Linked DNA regions of Homo sapiens: all the other regions are linked to region 3. Evidence: promoter capture Hi-C in human tissues and cell types (Jung and others, 2019). All regions are on one chromosome and are shown on one strand. The core of a region is centred on a gene start or on the middle of the fragment in contact, and the rest is flanking DNA. Distances in the headings are between cores, read along the strand shown. Region 1 holds the start of PRSS27 (serine protease 27). Region 2 holds the start of NTHL1 (nth like DNA glycosylase 1). Region 3 holds the start of CCNF (cyclin F).

Evidence for each region. Contacts are between HindIII fragments. The study calls those that stand out against the background at their distance.
Region 1: the fragment with the promoter of PRSS27 here is called in contact with the fragment with the promoter of CCNF in region 3 in 1 of the 25 tissues and cell types used here (pancreas).
Region 2: the fragment with the promoter of NTHL1 here is called in contact with the fragment with the promoter of CCNF in region 3 in 2 of the 25 tissues and cell types used here (lymphoblastoid cells and stomach).

Annotation. Positions count from the first base shown.
Region 1 is chr16:2,718,599-2,721,533 of GRCh38, forward strand. It overlaps PRSS27 (serine protease 27), which reads right to left and starts at 1,626. Exons shown (of 6, transcript NM_031948.5): 1 at 1,517-1,626. The coding sequence starts at 1,562. RefSeq lists an enhancer at 1,896-2,463 and a silencer at 2,197-2,935. The HindIII fragment of the contact is 19,281 bases long and covers 1-2,935 here.
Region 2 is chr16:2,046,528-2,049,227 of GRCh38, forward strand. It overlaps NTHL1 (nth like DNA glycosylase 1), which reads right to left and starts at 1,307. Exons shown (of 6, transcript NM_002528.7): 1 at 1,182-1,307. The coding sequence starts at 1,296. TSC2 (TSC complex subunit 2) reads left to right here and starts at 1,458. Exons shown (of 42, transcript NM_000548.5): 1 at 1,458-1,538; 2 at 2,060-2,226. The coding sequence starts at 2,089. RefSeq lists enhancers at 711-1,210, 802-861, 1,312-1,401 and a silencer at 1,492-1,721. The HindIII fragment of the contact is 27,107 bases long and covers 1-2,700 here.
Region 3 is chr16:2,428,187-2,430,924 of GRCh38, forward strand. CCNF (cyclin F) reads left to right here and starts at 1,261. Exons shown (of 17, transcript NM_001761.3): 1 at 1,261-1,311. The coding sequence starts at 1,296. RefSeq lists enhancers at 322-901, 337-516 and silencers at 727-1,576, 1,587-1,636. The HindIII fragment of the contact is 14,340 bases long and covers 1-2,738 here.

The DNA.
Region 1 (2,935 bases), core at 376-2,875, 290 kb after region 3:
GAGCCACCGCTCCCAGCCAAGTCCTAATCGTGATCTAGAGATCAAGGCCCAACTGAATGCTGCCTCCTCCAGGAAGCCTTCCTTGCTTGCTTGCATTGTCTACCTTGGAAGCCCTATACTCTCTCTTGAGCTCTCTGTCCTGATGGGAGCTCTGTCTACATCACCCTGGAGCCAGAATCAAGTCTTATCTTAGCCCAGGAGCTCCGAGAAGGCAAGGGCTGCATCTGGGGGGCCTGATCTCAGGGAATGTGTGGATGGACACAAGTGTGGCTGTGGGGGCTGATGGGAAATGGGGGATGTGGACAGCTGAGCCCTTCAGGGTGGGCGCCCTGTGGGGGCTGGAAGCAACAGCCAGGGGTGCCGGGGGTGTCAGGAGCATTGTTTGGGGCCTGGGCCTGTGATTCGCTGGTAGCTGGTGGGGATGGTGAAGCTTAGTGGGTACCACCAGCCAGAGACCTGGTGGGAGTGCCACCCTCGGGCTGGGAGTGAGGACGTGTCCAGGAGTCCAGCCTCTGGTCACAGCTGTTAGTGAACCGACTGCAAAACTCATTGCCAAAGAGTTTTGGCAATGACCTTGGTTCCTCACCCCGCTCAGGGGCAGTCACAGCCTTCCACCTCCTGTGCACATGGCTTGCTCAGAGGGCACCATCCTTGTGCTGGGAGACTGGGGGCATGGGGTGGGGGAGGCCGGGCCACTGAGGGGCCACTGGTGCCCTCCCACCCAGGAGAACAAGGAAGCCTGGAGTACTGGCTAAGCTGCAGCCTGGGATGACCTGACCCAGCCCTGGGAGGTGACTTGAGGACAGGGAAGTGTGGTGGCTGCCAGACTGGCTAGGCTAGCCCAGGAATGTGAGAGGTTTTCCCTGACAGAGAGTGTCCCGGCCCGCAGGGAGGGGCCTGGCAGGTGGGGCCCCCTGGCTGGCACCTGCTGTCCCTGACCCAGGACTGGGAGAGGGCACGGTGGCGCATCACCGGTTCCTCTGTCAGCAGGAGACAGGGCCCTCTGCCACCTACACCCCCTGCCCCCAGCTCTCTACTGAGCCTGCAGCCAGCCTGCTGGGGCTTCCGGGCACAGGCAGCAGCCCTCGGCTCGGCCACCCTCCCACCCCGAGTATGATGGTCCAGGCACTTGGAGCCTGAGTTCACATCCTGCACGTAGGAGGCCCCTGTCCTCACCTAGAGAATGGGGGGAGAGGCCGAGGTGGCAGGAAGCAGGGAGCCTGGCCAGAGCTGGCACACCAGTGCCCGCGGAGAGGCATGGGAGGAGGTGCTGCCCAGTTATGCCGGTGGGGTCCTCTGGGGCCTGTGCGCACACCTCCCACCCTGCCTCCCCACTTTGGACTCCCCACTTGGCACATCTGGAGCCTTCCCACCTGCTCAGGGGCAGGAGGGATGATGGCCTGTCCCACAGCCCCAGCCTGTCCCAGGGAGTAGGGGGCTGAGCCGGAGCCCCAGGCAGTGCAGCGGAGCCTGGTGGGGGACTGCACCACCAGGACCCTGCACCTTCACGACTCACCAAAACACAGCAGCAGCAGGAGCGGCACCGCCGCCGGCCGCCTCATGTCCTCAGGCCTGGCTGGGGCGCAGGGCCGTGGTCGGCGGTGGCAGAAGCGTTGGAGCACGAGCGAGGTGCAGGCTCCATGAAGTGGAGTTTTATGCTGGAGATGAGCACAGGCCCGGCTATGCGGCCCAACCCGTCGGCCCGGCCTGCCCAGCTCCTCTCCTCAGGAAGGAAGCGCCCAGAGCCGACTCCTCCGTGACCTAGCCCTGAACCCCGAGACCCCAGGGCAGACCCCTCACCCCAGCGCAGCACGGGGTGCCGTTGGCCTCGGTTCCTGGACCCTGAGCTGACCCAGACCCCCCAGCAGACCCCGAGCTGACCGCGGTGCACGCGAAGTCCGTCCAGCTTCATTCATTATTATTATTATTATTTTTTTTAATTTTTTGAGACAGAGTCTCGCTCTGTCGCCCAGGCTGGAGCGCAATCTCGGCTCACTGCAAGCTCCGTCTCCCAGGTTCAAGCCATTCTCCTGCCTCAGCCTCCTGAGTAGCTGGGATTACAGGCAGGTGCCACCACGCCCGGCTAATTTTTTGTATTTTTAGTAGAGACGGGGTTTAACCGTGTTGGCCAGGCTAGTCTCGATCTCCTGACCTCGTGATCCGCCCTCCTCGGCCTCCCAAAGCGCTGGGATTACAGGGGTGAGCCACCGCGCCCGGCCTCATTCAGTATTTTATTGAGCGCCGATGGAACACAGTGGGGCTGGGCCGCGCTGGTGGGAAAGTCAAGGCCAGGGGTGTTTGCGGGGCCGAGGGCAGGGGAGGCGATGGGACATGGGGCGGGGTCCGGAGTTGGCCGCAGCGACCCTCCTCCCGGGACAGCAGGCCCCAGAAGTTCCTCAGGCGCGCGCCAGCGCGGCCCAGGCGGCCGACCCGGGCCCCGGCTGCCATCCCTTGGAAGGGGCGGGGGCTTCCTGGCACCAGGCGGGGCGGAAGCGGCTCCGGGAAGGCCGGGCCGGGGTTACCGTTTCGGTGTCCCCGCCTGGCTCTGGGCGCGGCGCCGCGGCGGAAGAGGCTCGGGGAGGAAGTTATTTGGGGCACGGCGCTGACGTCAGAGACAGAGTGGGGCCGGGCCGTGGGGTCGGGGGCGCCGGACCTGTTTCCCCGCCGGCGCCGGGGGTCGGTACTCGCGGGCGGGGCGGGGCCGGGCGGCTCCGGGCGGGGCTGGGGGTGCGGCCGTTCCCGCCTCAGCCTTGTCCGCGCGCGTCGTGGTGCTGCCCTCTGGTGGGCGCGGGGCGCGGCGCGGGCGGCCAGGGGTGCAGAAGGGGCGCTCCCAGCCTCATGGTCCGGGCTCCGGCTCCCCGCATCGCCCTCCCTAGCCCCGCCCTCCCGCGTCTCCGCCTCCGCCTCCACCGCCTCCTCCCACCCTTCCCTCCCC
Region 2 (2,700 bases), core at 57-2,556, 380 kb before region 3:
CCCTCCTTATGCCAGCGACCCTGACAAGGTCCATGTTAGCTCATGAGGACTCTAGCAACAGCCTGTACCAAGGTGCCCCCAATACATCTTCTATACTGCACCAGAGACAGTCTGCTAACACCCACATCAGGTTGTGTCACTCCCTTTTAAAAAATCCTGGCCGGCCGGGCGCGGTGGATCAAGCCTGTAATCCCAGCACTTTGGGAGGCCGAGGTGGGTGGATCACTTGAGGTCAGGAGTTCAAGACCAGCCTGGCCAATATGGCAAAACCCCATCTCTACTAAAAATACAAAAGTTAGCCGGGTGTGGTGGCAGGGGCCTATAGTCTCAGCTACTTGGGAGGCTGAGGCAGGAGAACTGCTTGAACCTGGGGGGCGGAGGTTGCAGTGAGCTGAGATCACAACACTCCACTACAGCCTGGGTGACAGAGCAAGACCCGATCTCAAAACAAACAACAAAACCTCCTAATTGACTTCCGTTTACTGTCATAATAAACTCCAAACTCTATCCTGGCATCAAAGCTCCTGCCACCCTGGCTGGCATCACCACCTGCCTGCTCCCAGCTGCACCAGTTCCTCCTGACATAGTCTGGACTACCCCTGGGGTCCCTGGGTGCCTATGGGAATCCAGCTCTGGCCAATTCTGCAGAAGTCCCAGCGGGACTAGCGCAGAGGCCCTGTCCGTGTCCCTCACTGCTCACTGCAGTGCTTGGCCCCCAGCAGGTCCTCAACGGCTGCAGGATAAATATAATAAGTGCCATGCCCTTTCCTGTTTTCCCTCAGAGGCACCCTCCCCCGAGCTGGGGGAGCAGGCTTCTGGCTGCGTGTGTCCTTGGCACCCAGCCTCTCCGAGGACAGCAAGTTCACTGCAGGAGGGCGGGGATGGGACCCACAGAGCCTGGAGTGGAGAGTCCCGGACAGAGTGGTGGGAAAGGAAGCGTTTTCTTGCTTGGGGCGAAAGGGGGCAGCGGAGCGGAGCGCCCGAAACCCAGCCCCTGCGGACCGCAATCTTTGGGAAAAAGGCGCAAGGTGGGAACGCAGGGCCGCACGTGGGAACCGTTCGCGGCTGCCGGGTTTGCAGCCCCTGCCCGCGCAGCTGGGAGCCGCAGGAGGCGGCCCGGGACTCCAGCCTGCAGCCCCTATCCCGCCTCCTCCCACGCTCCAGCCACGGCGCGGCGCTACCTGCTGCAGCCTCTCTTCTCCGGAGAGGCCCGGGCTCCTCCCTACACCCCCGCGGCCCAGCCCCGGGTCCCAGGCTCCGGCTCCGGGTCAGCATCCTCGCGCTCAAGGCGGTCATGCCGGACTCCTGCGGACTACACATCCCGGCGGCCCATGCGGCCCCGTCACGTGATGCAAGGATCGCCGGCCTTTCCGCCAGAGGGCGGCACAGAACTACAACTCCCAGCAAGCTCCCAAGGCGGCCCTCCGCGCAATGCCGCTACCGGAAGTGCGGGTCGCGCTTCCGGCGGCGTCCCGGGGCCAGGGGGGTGCGCCTTTCTCCGCGTCGGGGCGGCCCGGAGCGCGGTGGCGCGGCGCGGGGTAAGTGGCGGTCCCCACGGGGCAAGTGGCGGTCCCCACGGGGCAGCGGCCTAGAGAGGCGGACCCCGCAGTGTCCGGGTCCCGGGCCCTCACCCGCGCCCACTGCAACCCGACTCCGGAGCTCCGAGCATCCCTTAGTTTTAAGTCATGGCGGGTGCGAACGGGTCTCTGCTGCAGGCGGCTCCGTGACAGCTCCTGCTTCACATGGGTAGAGGAGAGACGGCAAACGTCGGGGCTCCCAGGACTTCGCGGCGGCAGTCCTAACCCGTGCACTGAGTCGGGCGGGGCGGGCGGCAGCGTCTGAGTAGAGAGCTCTCTAGACCAGGCCTGGTGTCTCCCGGGCTTTCCTAGGTGCCTGTTTGCGAGCTGGTCAGCTGGGCTGTAGTTGAGTTCTCCCAGGGAGTGTGGGAGGAAAGGTTATGCCCACCAGAGACCCAGGGTCCTGACGGCTGGAGGTCCGCAGTGGGGAAGGTGGGCAGAGGTGTTGCTCAGATGTCCCCATTCCTGTTTCGTTTGCACAGAGGGGTTTTCTGGTGCGTCCTGGTCCACCATGGCCAAACCAACAAGCAAAGATTCAGGCTTGAAGGAGAAGTTTAAGATTCTGTTGGGACTGGGAACACCGAGGCCAAATCCCAGGTCTGCAGAGGGTAAACAGACGGAGTTTATCATCACCGCGGAAATACTGAGAGTGAGTGAGCTACCTGTGTCTTTGCTAGGCTAGAGGGAAATGCAGAGAAGGCTGGGTTTGGTCTTGCACCAGGTTCTGTGGGAGACGGGTTGCTGGCAACTGTCTACACAGGAATGCTGTCTCCAGTACTTGGAGGCCGACATGTCCTTCCTCAGGAGACTTCGAAAGTCAGGATCTTGGTGACCTGGTTCAGGCACACTTGAGTTACTATTCAGATGTTGATGAAAGAAAGCCCATCTTATAGATGAGGCCTGAGTATCATCATCTTCACAGGTAAGGATATGTCCAGGTGTTACATGATAAGATGTGAGTTCCTGGGAGAAGTAGGTTCTTTATTTTATTTTTTTTTTGAGACTGAGTCTTGCTCTGTTGCCTAGGCTGGAGTGCAGTGGCACAATCTCTGCTCGCTGCTACCTCTGCCTCCCAGTTTCAAGTGGTTCTCCTGCCTCAGCCTCCTGAGTAGCTGGGACTACA
Region 3 (2,738 bases), core at 11-2,510:
TCCCAACTTCCAGACCCTCTCTGGGGCCACGGACTCTTCTGTACCCTGTGCTGTGATCACCTGTTTACTCTGTCTCTTGCCCCAGGCCGGCTGAAGCCTGCACGCCAGGGCTCCTGTCTGTGTGCCCAGGGCAGGCCCAGTACTTGAAGGAGTTCTATGGGGACCCGGAAGGATGGAAGGGTGCAGACTGAGGGAAGCGTGAGGGAGGGGTGGGCAGCCTTGGCCCAGGCCCCTGCCTTCCCCAGGAAAAGCCCCCTCTGTCCTCCACCAGACAGTCAGGAGGCTGCGAGTCTTCCCCTTGACAGCCTGTGCCGTAAAAGGGGTGCGGTGTGGCTGACTCCTGAAGGACAGCTCAGATGGGCACTGCCCAAGACAAGAGTGAGCAGATACGACACTTCCCGCGGCGAGCAGCTCCAGGTAGCAGCCGAGGAGGCCAGACAGGGGGCAGCATCTGGCCAAAGTGATGGGGAGGGCTTGCCCCGGGGCTGGAGCACTGAGGCGTCCAGGGTGCGCCACGTTTCGCGGGAAGAAGGGGTCAGCGTTCCGCGGGGGAGACTTCCCAGCGTCAGCTCCGACCTCCTCTTTCTCTACCACGATCCCGGCCAGCATCCCCGCCCAGCAGCGGCTCAGCCACAAACCCAAGGGTCTCCACCTGAAGCAGGCGGCGGAAGGGAAGGCCGTGCAAGCTGGGGGTGAGGGTCGCGGGCCCAGGAGCGACCCCGGGACCCGGGCAGGGCACGGCCTCGTCTTAGAAGCGCCACGTCGAGGCTGTCCCAGGCTGGATCACGGCCGCGACTGCGAGGGACGCCAAGGAGTCCTCTTTCCCCTGGCCGCAGGCGTGCGCCTTCGCAGCCCATCTGGCACCGCAGATGCCGGTCGCCGGGGTCAGCGGCGAAGCCCGAACCCATGCGGCCGGGAGGGGACGCCCACAAACCCCTGCCCGCCGGCCGGGAAGCGCTCCTACGGGACCCCAGCCCCGTTGGGGAGGCGGGGCGGCCACGCGGGTTCCACCAATCAGCGGCCAATGTTCGAATTCGCGTCCTGGCGCGGCCAATGGCGGGTCCCGGAGCAGGCGGGGAGGGCGTGGAGGGCGGTAAATGAGGCGAGCACAGGGCGGGACATGGGCGGGGCCGGCGGCGGCCCCCCCGGGCAGGCCAATGGGAGGGCCGGGTGCGTTTGAAAACTGGGGTGGGCGGCGGGGCGGGGTCTGCGCCTGCGCGAGGGCTACGCGCGCTCCGGCCGGGGCGCGGGCGCGCTCTCAGGCGGGCTCCGGCGGCAGCGACGCGAGCGCGGCGATGGGGAGCGGCGGCGGTGAGTGCGGGGCGATGTCCGCTGGTTTCTGCCCCACACCCCTTCTGCCTGCCCTGCGGGGCGGACGGTGGGTCCCGCGGGAGGGGAGGCCCTGGCGGCCTGAAGAGGGCTGGCTCGAGCTCTTTAACCCGGGGCGGATGTCGCGTCCCGCGCAGGGAGCCCCGGCGGCCGGGCGCGCGGTTTAAATGCCCGGCGGGCGCCCGAGCCCCTCGGAGCCTTCCCCCGCGGCGACGTTTTCCGGCCCTTTCCTGGGGCAACGATCGGGTCCCGGGGCAGCGATCCGGCGATCGGGTCCCGGGGCGGCGATCGGGTCTCGGGGAGCCAAACACCAGCGCCTCCTGGTCGGGGAAAGGGCTGCGGAGCGCGTGGGGGCGAAGCGATCCCGCAGCCCGGCCGGGCCCTGACCGAGCCTCAGTCCAGCGGGGCCGTGGACCTAGCTCTGTGGAAAGCAGCGTTCGGCCCCGCGCGCGTTGAGGCACAGGAAACACGAACTGTGGTTTCAGCTATTATCATAGTATCTGTCCTGGAGCCGGAGAATGAGGAATATTTTATGGAGAGGTCTATAGAATCTTTGAGAATTCGTCGCCCTGGAATACGTTTGGCTTTTGCAGCTGATTTAATTGCTAACAGGAAGACCCCGGTCAAGAGAGGGGAGCCGGGAGCAATCGCTAGGAAGTCCTAGCAAGGCGGGGAGGGATTTGGGCCCACAGAGGGGAGTGGCGCTTCCTTTCAGGACTGGAAGGAAGGATGGATAGAAAGGTAGATTTGTAGATGGGGAGGCAGGATCCTGAGGTTCCTGTCTGAGGGCTTCTGTTTCCCTGTGAAATAAGGGCTAAGGTCATCTGCTTAGAGTGAGGAAGGGGTTGCTGGAGTAGGAGTTGGAAAATCCGGCTGTGGGAAGAGGAGAGAGCACATCTGAGAAGCATGTCCGGGCTGCCTGCCTGGTGGGTGGAATGCCCGTCTCACCTTTAATGATTGCATCTGTACACAAACCTACAGGTCTAGGTTTGTGTTGGGACCTGAGCAACAACCTTACTGCGTAGCTGTCAACTCCGCATTCTACAATAGAGGGCACACTGAGACTCTGCAGAGCTGAGACTTGGACGCACACTGCCCCGGCCTCCAAGTCTGTGGCTTCTCTCCAGGGCCGACCCTTCTAATTTGGACTTGAAAACCAGACTCTTCAAGCCCACAGATCTTTATTGAACATTATGCACCTTGGTCACGTGTGCAAAAAGCAAAGCTATCCAGCAAAGGCCCCAGGAGTTTTCCTGAGAGTGAAATAGAAGGAAAACCGTCCTCAGCTTCGGCAGCTTTTTCCCCTTCCTGCCTGTCATGTGGGCTCTGGATCAGAAAGTTTCCCAATAGCCAAGTTACATGACATGCGCTATTTGCCATAAATATTTGTTGAATATTTGAAAATGAAT